2 separate regions of the Homo sapiens genome follow, and region 1 is linked to region 2. The links are contacts of gene promoters, found by promoter capture Hi-C in blood cells and fetal thymus (Javierre and others, 2016). All regions are on one chromosome and are shown on one strand. Each heading gives the region's core, a stretch centred on a gene start or on the middle of the fragment in contact. The rest is flanking DNA. Distances are from core to core; before and after follow the strand shown.

Region 1 (2,743 bases), core at 15-2,514, 330 kb after region 2:
GTGTCACTATAGCCATGCTCTGGAGAGAGAAATAATGGGCTTTTGGTATGGTGGATACACCCATCAGCCAGCTATTGGTTATTTGGAAATTTTTGGTGACTGTTCTGCCCAAACCTTGCCACCTATTTTGCAGTGCCTAGTTGAGCACAGTTCATATCATCTCTTGGCATACATACCCAAAACATCTAGTGCTATTGAAATAAATGCAAAGCAAAGTGCAAGACCATGAGAGGAATTCGTCACAATGTGTTGGACTCGTATTTGGTCGAATTTATGTGGGATGATTGACTTGGAAATAATGTTTTCAATTCCCTTTTAGCGCATGTGTCAGAACAGTCTCCTGTTAAGTAACATTATGTTTGACTTTTGTTTTTAGTATATTTTAGTATAAATATCCAGGGACAAATTTTTTGATTGAATACACCTGAGAGGCAAATTGTTCAACTCATCCATGAAAGCATACAACATACTCTTTTTTGTCTGGCATCTTGCTTTCAGCATAATTATTTGTGAGATTCATCCATTGTGTGAATCAATTATTCATTCCTTGTTATTGCTGAGTAGAATTCCATTATATGGATATACTGTGATTTGTTTGTCACTCATCTGTTGGTGCATATTTTAGGTGGTTTGTAGTTTCGGGCTTTCACAAATAACAGCATATAAGTGGATCCTGCTATTTTATCCAGTCTGACAATCTCTGCCTTAACTGGCTGTGTACTTAGAACATTTATATTTAATATGATTATTGGTATGATTGGGTTTAAATATGTTATTTGTTTTCTAATTGGCCCAACTGTACGTGTTCTTCTTTTTCTGGCACAATCATTGGCTCACTGTAGCCATGAACCCCTGGAGTCAAGCAGTCCTCCTGCCTCAGTCACCCAAGTAGCTAGGACTGTAGGCATGTGCCAACATGCCCAGCTATTTTTTTTTAATTTTTATTTTCTGTACAGATTTGAGGAAGGAAAAGGGGTATTGGAGGTTTAAGGAGAAAATGTGAATTAGTTGTCTTGGAGAGTGAGCAAACACATTACTCTGGTAAATGTGCTAAGATTGTCAGGCAGTAATGAGGCCCCACTTGATGTTTGTCACTGTGAATATAAAGACACATCAGCCAGCATGATTCTGGGTTTTTCTTCAGTCACTCTAAGTTCCCAGGTGCAGTTGCAAAATAGATGGGAAGCTTGGTTGTAAAGGGTTGGGATTTCGCCAGGACTTTGGTGTCCTTGGGAGGTAGCAACGTTTCATTTGGAGCTAGAATTTAAAGCAGACACTCAGAAGAGAAATTGGGGATATAGGCAGTTTGCTGATGACATACTGAGTTCAAGGAGGCAAAGTATAAGCTTTTCTCAAAGGTTCAGAGTAGTGGGAGACTGTCAGGTTAGAGAGTGGAAGGCATTCCATGGTGACTGAGGTAGTTAGGGGTATGGGCATGATTGGATTCCTCCTGATGGTTTCTTAGGGGAAAATGGTTATCATTTCTAATGATAATCTCTTTCTTGAGATTGATCTCATTCCTTCCATCAGCCCTACAGAGTCTGGCTGTGGCCTTCCCCATAGCTTCTATAACCTACTTCTTTTTCTGTCATTCTCCCCTCCTGTCATCCACTCTTGACTTCTTTGCTATTTCTTGAACATCCCAAATTTGTTCTTGTCTCAGTGCCTTTACCTTTACTTTTCTCTCTGCCTCTCAGCTCTACTTTTGTCTGAGTCCTTCATATCATTCAGCTCTCTCATCAGACTTCACTTCCCTAGTTAGCACTCCCACACCAGTCTCTTATTTCCTTTCTCCTTTTCTCCCTCTCCCTCCCTCCCTCTCTCTCTCTCTCCCTCTATCCCCCTCTCCCCCTCTCCCTCTCTCTCCCTCTTTCTGTTCTTTCTTCCTCTTCCTTTTCCCACAGCACTGTTCACTCCAGTTATGAGGATAGAGACTGTTCTTTTGTTCCCTACTGCTTCCCTCCTAAGACACTGCCTAGTGTGTAGTAGGTGTTCAATAAATATTTGGATGAATATAAATGGCAAACTTCCCTAATGCCTTCAAAAGATAGACTGACTTTCAAATAAATTGATATAGACTTTTCAGTAATAGATGTTGCATGAAATGGCTTTTCATCACCATCTGGTTTTCTCCAACCAGAAGAAAAAGCTTCAGACATTAACATGTAGTGGAAAGCCCGTTTATAGAAGAAACCCAGGGCTGTTCTGACATTTATTCTGAAATGAGAATATTACTTAATTCACGGACTAAACGTTCTAAAAATAATAATTTCATAGATTAATAGTTTTGGGGGGTTCTTAGAGAATATGAGAATATTTTGACTTGTGCTTTTTATTTTGTAAATCAATTTGCAGTGGTCATTCTTCATTAGATACTGTTTAAAACATGGTTTTTGCCCGTAGGGAGCTCCTTGTGTTTGCTTGGGAAATAAAACTAAACATTGGAAAAGCACAGTGGCAATACAAGATGAAAGTCAAGGCAGTGAAAAAAGTTATTCCAAGGAGGAACACAGTGCTTTATGGAATCTAACTGGTGCCGAGTGTAATTGCTGACCCAGTTCAGTTTAAAGAAGTATACTGTGCGGCCCGTGGAATGGTGTCCCTCTTTAGTTCCTTAAAAACCACTCAAGGTCTCTGGGCCCATGGTGTGGCCCTATTATAATTCATATTTTGTTTTCATTGCAGTTGTCGGACAAGTAACCGCAAGAGCTTGATTGTGACCTCTAGCACATCACCTACACTA
Region 2 (2,818 bases), core at 44-2,543:
CAGCCAGAGTTCCCGGGTTGGCCTTTTGCACTGGAGAATAAAGTTCTGCCTCTCGCCGGGAGCTCAGCGGGTTCCTGGGGTGGCAGGCGACGCGCAGGGAGACGGTAACGCATCAGAGGCCCCGGGGCTGCAGCCAGCCCGCCCCTCCCACCCCGGAGCCGCATGTTCCGGGGATCCGCTTAGTCGGGTCTCACCCTGGCTCCGCCTGCAGCTCCTGAATGCGGGCCCCCAACACCTCTAGAGCTCCCCGCGTCCTCCCGGCCTCAGCTTGTAGTTCTCGAATCTCCTGCTCCAGGCCGAAGAGGCGGGACATCCCGCCCCGCGTACAGGCCACAACTTGGAGGCGTCGGCTCAGTTCTGAGGGAATGCGGGCCGAGTCAGAACCGGCCCGAGCAAGCTTAAGCCAAACGGCGAGGGCAGAGGAGGTCCTTGGTCCCCGTCCCCCATCTCCTTCACCCTCGCCGCGTAGCTGCAGGGCCCGGCTCTGCGCTTCCATCTCCGCCACGCGCCTCGCGCGAGTCCTGAACAGCGCCCGCAGCCGCTCGCTGGGGCTTCCCACCGCCTCGGACATGGGACTCTGAGGCCGCGCCTCGGAACGTGTCCAGGGCCCCGCGAACACCCTGGGGACCTCTGTTATCCAGGGCCGCATTTCCTGTAGGGATAGCCGCAGCCACTGCACCTGGAGGTAACAGCGATCCGCGATCTCTGCGTGGGCAGAATCTGTCCCAAGTATGATCTACAGGTTTGGGGAAGACGCTCAACGTTTTGAGCCCTGGGGGAAGGTAGGTAGCTCTACCTCCTCTGTTAACCTCTTTAGAGCAGATCTACTGGCCTGCTGGTCTGGGAGGCCCTGGGGTTCTTGTGGCACGCCCTGGTGTTCTTGTGGCACAACCTGGGGATAGGGTGTAGTAGGATGAGGAATCATAAAGGTCCTGGCTCCTTTGAATCCCCACCCATGGCCATGGAGGCCCTTACCGCGGCCCGCTGGGGTTCAGTGGCAACTGATGCCTGTGCTCCAAATGTCATCTCTTGGGTCGGGTGGCCAATGCAGAAGCGCTGAGTATGGGTGGCTAACAGAGCTGAGGAGCGGAAAACCATGTCACAGGTCCCACAGGGCAGGAGCGCAGGCTCCCCAGAGTGGGAGTCCATGGGATGGGACCCGTTTCCTGAAACCAGCCAAGACCTGCAGAAGGGATCAAGGGCAGGGGAAAGGCAGAGGAGGATGAAAGAGACATAAAGCCAGAGGCAGAGAGGAAAGGCCGTGTCTATTAGGTCTGTGAGATCTTCAAGTTTGTTTGGGGAGAGCCTTAGCTCCCTGGACAGCAACCACAGGGCTGGGCAGGTCAGGAGAATGGGTGGGGAAACCTCGGCCGTTTGGGAGGAGCCACTGGCTTGAAAAAGTGTTACAAAGTCTGAACGTGGGCAAGTCTCTAATTGTAGCTTGGTTTCCCTGACTATTAATAAAGAGGAAAAAGCAGCTGCCTCCTAGACTAGGCTGGGCCCTTATCACTTACTACATCATTGGTCATTTAATAGCCTCTAAAAGGCAAGTGTCATCTTTTTCATTGCTGTACTCCCAAGTGGATGTAACAGTTTGTACCATTCTCCAATCCAGAGAACTACCTGGCAAAGGAGGCACTCTGACCTTTCCAGCATTCTGCCTGGAAACCATGTCGCACCAGGGATAGCAGTCTCCCTAACTCCCATTCCCTGATTCCTCATTTTTCAGCTGTAGACGAAGATAATCAGCACAGCCCAAGAAATGAAAGCTGTGGGCGAACAGAATGAATCTATCAGATGAGGGAATCAAGTCCAGAAAAAAACCCCTTCTCTCTCCCAAGATTGGCCAGAAGCCAGAAAGACCCTGAACTGTTGGTGAAATTCTTCACTCCACTCCCACTCCCAAAATATATGGAGGAGCTCTGAGGTGACCGCATATTTCTTAAGAAACCCTCTTTACTTTTTTTTTTTTCTTTTTGAGATGGAGTCTCGCTGTCGCCCAGGCCGAAGTGCAGTGGCGCGATCTCAGCTCACTGCAATGAGCTCTGCCTCCTGGGTTCACGCCATTCTCCTGCCTCAGCCTCCCAAGTAGCTGAGACTACAGGTGCCCACCACCACGCTTGGCTCATTTTTTGTATTTTTTAGTAGAGACGGGGTTTCACCATGTTAGCCAGGATGGTCTTGATCTCCTGACCTCGTGATCTGCCCGCCTTGGCCTCCCAAAGTGCTGGGATTACAGGCGTAAGGCACTGCGCCCGGCCAAGAAACACCCTTTTCTCTTCTTTTTTTGAGACAGTCTCGCTCTGTTGCCCAGGCTACAGTGCAATGGCACGATCTCGGCTCACTGCAAGCTCTGCCTCCCAGGTTGACACCATTCTCCTGCCTCAGCCTCCCCAGTAGCTGGGACTACAGGCACCTGCCACCACACCCGGCTTTTTTTTTTTTTTTTTTTTAGACGGAGTCTCGCTCTTTCGCCCAGGCCGAAGTGCAGTGGCACTATCTGGGCTCACTGCAAGCTCCGCCTTCCGGGTTCAAGCCATTCTCCTGCCTCAGCCTCCCGAGTAGCTGAGACTACAGGTGCCCACCACTGTGCCCGGCTAATTTTTTTTGTATTTTTAGTAGAGATGGGGTTTCACCGTGTCAGCCAGGATGGTCTTGATCTCCTGACCTTGTGATCCGCCCGCCTCGGCGTGCCAAAGTGCTGAGATTACAGGCGTGAGCCACTGCGCCCAGCCTTATGCCTGGCTAATTTTTTGTATTTTTAGTAGAGACGGGGTTTCACAGTGTTAGCCAGGATGGTCTCGATCTCCTGACCTCG

Evidence for each region. The method cuts DNA at HindIII sites, captures the fragments that hold promoters and counts their contacts. A CHiCAGO score of 5 or more calls a contact.
Region 1: a contact is called between a fragment that was not itself captured here and the fragment with the promoter of CCDC17 in region 2, in 2 of 17 cell types (M1 macrophages and endothelial precursors). The highest score is 8.0, in M1 macrophages.

The regions. Positions count from the first base shown.
Region 1 is chr1:45,956,701-45,959,443 of GRCh38, forward strand. MAST2 (microtubule associated serine/threonine kinase 2) reads left to right here. Exons shown (of 29, transcript NM_015112.3): 5 at 2,686-2,743. Among named protein-coding and RNA genes, the nearest start is that of MAST2, 150 kb to the left of the region's middle. The HindIII fragment of the contact is 160 bases long and covers 1,185-1,344 here.
Region 2 is chr1:45,622,761-45,625,578 of GRCh38, forward strand. CCDC17 (coiled-coil domain containing 17) reads right to left here and starts at 1,294. Exons shown (of 13, transcript NM_001114938.3): 1 at 976-1,294; 2 at 797-892; 3 at 457-679; 4 at 195-357; 5 at 1-74. The coding sequence starts at 1,149. The HindIII fragment of the contact is 6,664 bases long and covers 396-2,818 here.